Regions from separate parts of the Homo sapiens genome. Here all the other regions are linked to region 2. The links are contacts of gene promoters, found by promoter capture Hi-C in blood cells and fetal thymus (Javierre and others, 2016). All regions are on one chromosome and are shown on one strand. The core of a region is centred on a gene start or on the middle of the fragment in contact, and the rest is flanking DNA. Distances in the headings are between cores, read along the strand shown.

Region 1 (2,700 bases), core at 140-2,639, 640 kb after region 2:
GTCAGGTGGTACATGGATGATCTCTTTTGCAAAGGGCACGAAGTGTCCACCTATGATATGGGTCCTTCCATTCACACGTATTATAAGTAAATTAAAAGGTACACATGAACAATCATACCAACTTCCATTCTCATCTCCCTCTTTGTATGATAAAAATCACAGAACCTCAGGCTTAGAAAACACCTTGAAGTCTGCTGGGCGCAGTGGCTCTCGCCTGTAACCCCAGCACTTTGGGAGGCTGAGGTGGGAGGATCACCTGAGGTCAGTTCGAGACCAGTCTGGCCAACATGGTGAAACCCCGTCTCTACTAAAAATACAAAAATTAGCCGGGTGTGGTGACAGGTACCTGTAATGCCTGCTACTTGGGAGGCTGAGGCAGGAGAATCACTTGAACCTGGGAGGCAGAGGTTGCAGTGAGCCGACATCACGCCACCGCCCTCCAGCCTGGGCGACAGATCAAGACTCTGTCTCAAAAAAAAAAAAAAAAAAGAAAAAAGAAAAAAGAAAACACCTTGAAGTCACCTAATCTAGCTTCTGCATAGTTATCCATTTTAATTCTCTTTGCCACACCCCCAATAAGTGTTCACTTCAGCAAAGGAAGTGCAGTATCTGCCAAGACAGCCCAAATTCATTTACCGGACTAACCAAAGGAAATCGTTCCCATATTTTGCCAAAACCTGCCCTTCTGGGACTTCCACTCAAAGCTTCTGGATCCTGTCCTCTGGGGCCTCCAGGAGGGAGCTCTCCGCCAACCTAGGTCCTCTACGCTTGGAAGAAGTTGCCACATTCCCGTGGCTGCCCCTTCCTGCAGGTGCCACAGCCCCCTCATTCCCATCTTTTTGTATCTTTTTTTGCCATTTTGGTTTGGGTCCTCTGACGGCCCTGGGGGTTGTCAATGTTCCCTTTCAAGTGCGACACTCGGAGTTGAGGCTGATGCTCATTTTCTTGGCAGCCCCACAACACAACGCAGTTAACAGATTGAGCCCAAAGTCTTTTTTTTTCACACGTCTTGCTGTCAAATCCCATTTCCCAGATCCTGTTCTTAATTGTGCAGCTGGGCCTCCCTTTTCAACTCAGTCCATCATTACAGTCTGTTGAGATCTTCTGGGATCTTCGGTCTGCTGTCAGTTGTATTCATGTCATCTGTGAATCTGACCATTGTTCCATTAATAGCCTCATCCAAAACACTGGGCCTGCCCTGGCCAACCTGTGAGTGGAGACAGAACTCGGGGTGGTGACAGGGCCTGCCCTCTGGGCACACTCTGATGGCCAGCAGCACCTTTTGATAATGAGCCCACTTCATTCTGTCATCATTTGACCCGCATTCCTTCATGCCGAACCCAGCCTATGGTGACAGCCTCTACCAAATGCCCAGGAAACCTACATACAGGCACTGCACAGTCCTCTCTGGAGTATGATTCTGGTTGACCTGTGGAAAAGTGAGGCTTGCCTGGTATGATTTCTTGTTAGGACTCCTAGAAAGCAGTGTTTCCTTTTCTACGTATGTGCTCCCAAGCCGGAATCCCCTAGAGAATAACCTGGAGGAGCACATCAAGCACCATTGCCCCCATCTCCTGGAAGCCCTCCGCCTCCAAAAGTCCCCATGGAGCCACGGCCCCAACTTCATGTCTCCCAGGAGCAGTGAGACGCCGTCCCACCGGGGAGACGGCCTCCTCTGCACAGTGAGGTTGGTCATGCAGCCTCCCACACTCTCTTAGGCTTTAACCCCCTTCGACGACCAATATTTGATTCCAAATGAAAAACTGTTCTCCTTGACAAAGACGGCAAAAGCAAAATACGAATTGTGTAGTGTTGTTCCGTCTGCATCAGGGCTAACGTTTTACTGTCAGCCCCAAACCGCACTCCTTGCTTCAAAAGTAACTACACAGAAACTCCTTTTATGGCCTTCGGCATTTCCCAACAACACTCCCGCTGGTCCACGCCGTTTGTCCGGCTACCTTACTTTGGTGCCCTTCTTTCCAAACCTGAGACCACGAACAAGCTCTGAGGGGAGCCCCTGCAGCCTTTAATGCTTCCCTTCTTTTCCTCACTGGGCTCCTTTGTAATCCATATTCAAAGCTTCAGTGCAAGATCTCCCAGCCCACCTGAGACATCTCTCTTCTTAATTTTTTTTTTTTTTTTTTTGAGACAGTCTTGCTCTGTCGCCCAGGCTGGAGTGCAGTGGCGTGATCTTGGCTCACTACAACAACCTCAGCCTCCTGAGTAGCTGGGACTACAGGTGCACACCACAATGCCCGGCTAATTTTTGTATTTTTAGTAGACCCGGGGTTTCACCATGTTGGCCAGGCTGGTCTTGAACTCTTGACCTCAAGTGATCCACCTGCCTCAGCCTCCCAAAGTGCTGGGATTACAGGTGTGAGCCACCGTGCCTGGCCCTAGAATCTTTTTTTTTAAGTTCTACCTCTTTATGCTTCTTTGAAATCTACCCTCCAGAAGCAGACAAAGCACGAGTGTGCTGAGTGAGTCCCCCTGCCATGCCAGGCTCTGTGGACTCAGGGAGTACGGCCACAGCACCTGTCCCTCTGATGCTCACGGCCCGCGTCAGTGAGGGGGACAGCCTGATGGGCCTGCAACAAGGGCTGCTCGAAGAGGAGATGCCTTGGCCGGAGCCTCGTCTTGAGGCTGAAGAGATGTGAACCAGGCAGAGGAGGACAATGGGAAGAGGCCTCTCCAGGAGGA
Region 2 (2,830 bases), core at 202-2,701:
GTCTATCTGGCCGGAAAGCATGATGATGAACAAAGCAACCTTGCCTCTGTCAGGCACACCTATAATGGTTCCAAGAGCCACATTCCGACTGTTGTACTGCGGGTGGCAATGGAACGGTCTTCCGATTACCTAAAATGCCACAGATTCCCTTCTTCTCTAATACGCATCCGATTACCATAGAACTCTAAGATATCTTTTAAAACCTAGTCATATTAAAAGTTCCTTTTTCTCCATTAATCAGTCTGCCCCAAAGAAGCTTTTCCGTATTTCACAGGATCCTTAGAAGAGGCCAGCTAACTGTGATACCTAGCACCCTTATCTTTTCTCGATACACAGCGTCCTTCCTCCAGCAGAATCCTAAAATAGCAGCAGTCCGGATTAACATGGCTGTGAGGAGTAGGTGCTTAGCTGAATAACATCAGAATTAATGAGGGGCCGGACCCCAAACAGAGCCACCTGGTGGGCATGAACACCAGGCAGTTATGGGGCCGTTTCCTTCAACCAAGTGTCTGGTCCCTGGCTATCTCTGCTTCAGCCAGAACACATTCTGTCCCCCACCGAGGCTTTAAGGGCCAGCGCGCAGCACCCTCACCTTTCAGCAGGTCCGGGTGCACATAGCCCAACACGTCGGAGACCCCCAGCTCCTGGCGCGAACAGGTGCCTCCGTGGATGTGCAACCAGGCGGGCTCGGCGAGGGCAGTGCACAGCGCCGTGATAGACAGGGCGCCAGGCAGGGCCGAGGCCAGGCTACGCTCCGGCTGCTTGGGCAGAGCGCTGCCTCCCGGGCTCCTCCGCCGGCGCCCGCCGGGCAGCCCTGCGCCTCCGGGGGCGTACATGCCCGGGGCCGCCCGCCGTCGCTCCGCAGTCGCTGCTGGTCGCCGCCGACCTCCGCGGGGCGCGCAGAGCCTGACAGTCCGGTGGAGGATAGCAACGCTCCGGGTTCGCTGCAGGTGAAGCCGGGACTGGGCTGTCAGGGTTGACACCAGAGGATAGGGGGGTGGGACCCGGGGCTGACGGAGACGGGGAGGGCTGCGGGAATTCGGGGGGCGGAGACAGGAGACTCCGGAATGGGACTGCGGGACGACAACCGAAGAGGGCCAGGGGCCAGATGGGGTCTGGGCAGACTCGAGTGGGGGGCGGAGGGATCGGGGATCGGCTACTGCTAGAGCAAAGACCCGGAGTCAGGGTCTCAGCCAGAGGATGCCGAGGGGCGGAGGACCGGGCTGGGCCGCGGGGATCGGGGACCCGTGATCTGGGACCGGCGGTTTGGGGTGCGACCTGTGCGCAGAAAAGACCCTCCCCACGCCGCCCACTGTTCCTCACCAGTCAGCAGGCCCCAGGGCTGGGATGGTGCTGCTCAGCCCAGTCACGGGCTTCTCGGCTGCCGGGGGCCGAGCGTTCCCAGGCCCCAATCCCGCAACGCCCGGACAGACCCGGGGCCGATGCACTTCCGGCTTCCTCCTCCTCTGCCTCCGCCTCCTCCGGCTCCCCGCCCCGTCCCCCGCGCGCGTCACAGCCTGGGCGCGCCGCCGGCTCTGCGCAGGGCCTCACGGGACTGGTAGTTCGAGGCGGTCCCGCGATGCTTTCCCTGCCGAGGTGAGGGGAGCGACTACAACTCCCAGAGGGTATGGCGGCCGCAGCAGTGGGCAGTTGAGTTTCCGGGGCGACCCAGGTCCTCCGGCGGAAGCGGGAGCCTCTGTCGGCCGCGGAAGCCTGGAGTGGGCGGTACGCAGACGCGCGCGGTGAGACCCGCTGTCTGCTCAGCGGACTCTGCCCGCCCCCACCTCCCCCTGCGTCGGGCCGACATGAAGGACTCGCTGGTGCTGCTGGGCCGTGTCCCGGCGCACCCGGACTCCCGCTGCTGGTTCCTGGCCTGGAACCCCGCGGGGACCCTGCTGGCCTCGTGCGGCGGCGACCGGAGAATCCGCATCTGGGGCACGGAGGGTAAGGCCCAGCCTGGTTGCGCGGCCCTCAGCGCTGAGGGCTCAGCCTGCGCGTAGTGCAGGCGCTCAGCCTGCAGGGGAGGCTGAACCTGTTCCTGGCGGAGGGAGAGTGGGATGTTAGCCACGCCGAGAAGGGCTTTACAGGCAAAGAAGTCTGCGACTGTTGGGAGGAAAAACGTCAGCAGACAAGCTGAAATGTCAAGGGAATTGTGTTAGCTGCAGAGGCAGGAAAATGGGAAAAGAGAGGTGTTAGGAAAGTGGCCTTCAGAGTAACTTGCGACTGGATGGTCACATTTTATCCCGAGGGCATTGGGGAACCAATAGCAATTTTAGATCAGATTTGTTTTAGAAAGATGCCTCCAGAGGTTGGGCGCGGTGGCTCACGCCTGTAATCCTAGCAGTTTGGGAAGCAGAGGCGGGTAGATCACCTGAGGTCAAGAGGTCAAGACCAGCCTGGCCAACATGGTGAAACCCCGTCTCTACTAAAACTACAAAATTAGCTGGGCGTTGTGGCGGGCACCTGTAATCCCAGCTACTCGGGAGGCTGAGGCAGGAGAATCCCTTGAACCCAGGAGGCGAAGATTGCAGTGAGCCGAGATTGTGCCATTGCACCCCAGCCTGGGCATCAGAGCAAAAACTCCGTCTCAAAAAAAAAAAAAAAAAAAAAAAAAAGCTTCCAGACGAAGTAGATTCATTTGCATCTTTGTAAAAGCTGTGAAATACACTCCCTGAGCTTTCCCCCACTAGCTTGATTCCAGTGCTAGCCCCTGATATTGAATGGCTTCATGGTGCTGCACCCAGCTCCAGAGCCTGGCCTGCGCTCCGCCTTTAGGTGACAGCTGGATCTGCAAGTCTGTCCTTTCTGAAGGCCACCAGCGCACCGTGCG
Region 3 (2,700 bases), core at 58-2,557, 590 kb after region 2:
AAAGGGCAGAACTGCCCCCAGTTGAGAACTGGGGTGTTTAGGGAGGGTCTCTGAGGAGATGACATTGGAGCTGGGATCTGAAGAAAAGCATCAGCTAGCTTAACGGTTGTAGGAAGTTCATTCTAAGGAGATGGGACAGCAAGTCCAACGGCCTTAACTCAGGAAAAGGTCTTGCATATTTGAGACACCAAAACAAGACCAGTGTGGCTGCGGCGTAGTGATTGGGGGAAGAAAAGCATGAGAAATAAAATGAGGAGGAGAAGTAGAACCGGCAGGGGTGGGTCTACAGAGCTTTGTAGGCCATAACAGGGAATGATGTGATTTCTAATTTTCAAAAAGCCGCTCTGGCTGCTATGTGAGAGTAGAAAACCCTGTAGGAAGGCAAGCGTGGAAGCAGAAAGACCCTCTGAGGCAACCACTTCAGCAGTGCAGAGGACAGCGGTAGGAGGGGCGGAGGGAAGTAGGCAGGTGCCAGAACCACGGTAAAGGAAGAGTTCCATGAGAATGCTTACACAGCAGTGGCAATCGAGGGCTGCATCCGCAAGGGCAGATGACACAGCACAGTGGTTCCCAACGCTCACAAGAAGCACCCTGGTTTCCCGCCTTCCTCTGTTCCTATTGGCACCATAATCTCTGTATAATCTGGGCCAAACGTGTTACCTCTCTGGGTCCCACAGATGAGATACTGTGCCCTGCCTCGAAGGCTGCCCGTGCGAAGCTCTTGCCATCTTTAAAGCATGCAGGCTGCCTGGCACCCGGGGCTAAACAAAGGCCACTGCTCTCCTTCACCGCGCAGCCCCCAGGCCTGCAGCTCCATGCCCCTCAGGTTGGGTGCAATGCCCCTGGTGCAGATTCTGCTCCCCGGGCCCTCTCTCAAACACCTGAGCAGGCTTGTGTCTCCCAGGGGAGGTCGTCCCCCGCTACTCGGGAGGGTTACGGAAACCAGTGCTTCCGCTTCCCCGCCGCCCGCGGGACAGGTGTCTCCTGGCCGAGCTCGTGCGGGGCCCTGGGAGGCTCTCAGTACACGGGAACCGTGGGTCCCGCCCGCCTTCCCGCACCAGGCCCCAAGCCCCAAGCCCCAAGCTCTCGGGGCCCCGTTCATCCGCCTCTCCTTGGCCCCACGCCTCCTCCTTGGGCCGGGGCCTGGTGAGAACCACGAGGGCCGCGCGGCAGCCTCACCCCTCTCGAAGTCCATCTCCTCCAGCGTCTGCTGTACGCCGAGCACCGCGCTGGGATGCGAGCAGCAGGGCCCGTCCGCGCAGGGCCGAGGCGTCGCCATCCCGGCCCCGGCGTCAGTCGATCCGCCCCGGGTCTCAGGCTCAGCCTCGGCGGGAGGGGCGGACGCAGGGCCCGCCCCGCGTCCCTGATCTGGCCGCTCGGCGTCCGCGGCTGTCGCCCTAGTCCCGCCTTCTCGCCAAAGCTGACCAATCAAACGCCTAGGCCTTAGCTCGAGAACCAATTGCAACGGTAGGGCGGGGCTTGTTGCGCCCGGCCGTGCCCCGAGGCCTCCGCGCGAGGGCGTCCAAGGCCAAGCGAGGACTGAGGCGCTGGGTTCCGGGAGCCGCGCGCCGCTGGAGGGCCGCCGGGCCGCCTGGCCTTGCAGGGTGTGGGGATGAGGCAGCTGGGTCCGGTCGGGAGCTTTCCCGTTACCTTCGCCATGACCCAGCCGTCCAGCGACCTCGCAGCCTCCTCTCTTTACCGCCCCTAGTCCCTAGGGCAGGGAGGCGCCACGCGCTCCGCGGTCTTTTTTTTTTTTTTTTTTTTTTTTGAGACGGAGTCTCGCTGTCACCCAGACTTGTGTGCAGTGGCGCGATCTCGGCTCACTGCAACCTCCGCCTCCCGGGTTCAAGCGATTCTCCTGCGTCAGACTCCTGAGTAGCTGGGACTACAGGCGCCCGCCACCACGCCCGGCTAATTTTTTGTATTTTTTAGTAGAGACGGGGTTTCGCCAGGATGGTCTCGATCTCTTGACCTCGTGATCCGCTCACCTTGGCCTCCCAAAGTGCTGGGATTACAGGCGTGAGCCATCGGGCCGGGGCGCGCTCCACGGTTTTTAGCCCCTCTTCCTGGCACCACCCCGGACCAAGGCCGACCGCCCCCGGGGCAGCGGCAAAGTGACGGCTGGAAAGGCCTCGAGACGCCCCTCCCCGTACCCTGCTCTTCCTTACAAGTCCAGCAAGGGGCAGGTGGCCACAACTTGTCCTGCCTGTAGCTCCACCTCAGGGCAGGGGCAGGGCCTTGGTTTGTGCAGAACCCCCTGGCCCCACAGTGGGCGCTGAGTTTACGGAATCGGTCTTCATGATCAAAACCCACCGGGAGGCCGTCTGCGGACCGCGCACCTTCGCAGCGTGCTCCTCAGCGGACCCCAGCCTTCTCAATTCCCAGTTAAAACCCAGGCAGCTGCCTGCTCAAGCCACGATCAAGTGTACAGGGGAGACCGCCTGATCGGCTTAGAAAGAGTGCATGAACGACAGAATGCAGGTTGGGTTCTGTGCCAGTCCCTCTCCAGGACAGTGGTCTGGTGCACACTGGATGTAAGTTCCTTCCCCCGCTAGTTGGGGCACGGAAGACCCTAGCATTCCTGGTGGGTAGAAGGCTGGAAGTCGTTTCTCCTCCCCTAAGCAGGTTGAGAACCCCATCCTCACACAAGCAATGATCTCATCTCCACAACCTTCCACTCCTTTGGCCCCTCATTCCCAC

The links. The method cuts DNA at HindIII sites, captures the fragments that hold promoters and counts their contacts. A CHiCAGO score of 5 or more calls a contact.
Region 1: a contact is called between a fragment that was not itself captured here and the fragment with the promoter of TMEM127 in region 2, in 1 of 17 cell types (total CD8 T cells). The highest score is 5.3, in total CD8 T cells.
Region 3: a contact is called between the fragment with the promoter of ANKRD39 here and the fragment with the promoter of TMEM127 in region 2, in 3 of 17 cell types (non-activated CD4 T cells, fetal thymus and naive CD8 T cells). The highest score is 8.0, in non-activated CD4 T cells.

Annotation. Positions count from the first base shown.
Region 1 is chr2:96,908,672-96,911,371 of GRCh38, forward strand. All of the region lies in intron 12 of FAM178B (family with sequence similarity 178 member B), which reads right to left. Among named protein-coding and RNA genes, the nearest start is that of SEMA4C, 40 kb to the left of the region's middle. The HindIII fragment of the contact is 1,375 bases long and covers 703-2,077 here.
Region 2 is chr2:96,264,546-96,267,375 of GRCh38, forward strand. TMEM127 (transmembrane protein 127) reads right to left here and starts at 1,452. Exons shown (of 4, transcript NM_017849.4): 1 at 1,324-1,452; 2 at 593-967. The coding sequence starts at 836. It overlaps CIAO1 (cytosolic iron-sulfur assembly component 1), which reads left to right and starts at 1,680. Exons shown (of 7, transcript NM_004804.3): 1 at 1,680-1,944; 2 at 2,776-2,830. The coding sequence starts at 1,806. RefSeq lists silencers at 712-1,021, 1,072-1,281, 1,292-1,341 and enhancers at 1,572-1,761, 1,992-2,271. The HindIII fragment of the contact is 2,360 bases long and covers 255-2,614 here.
Region 3 is chr2:96,856,709-96,859,408 of GRCh38, forward strand. ANKRD39 (ankyrin repeat domain 39) reads right to left here and starts at 1,308. Exons shown (of 4, transcript NM_016466.6): 1 at 1,180-1,308. The coding sequence starts at 1,279. RefSeq lists silencers at 969-1,138, 1,169-1,838. The HindIII fragment of the contact is 20,079 bases long and covers 1-2,700 here.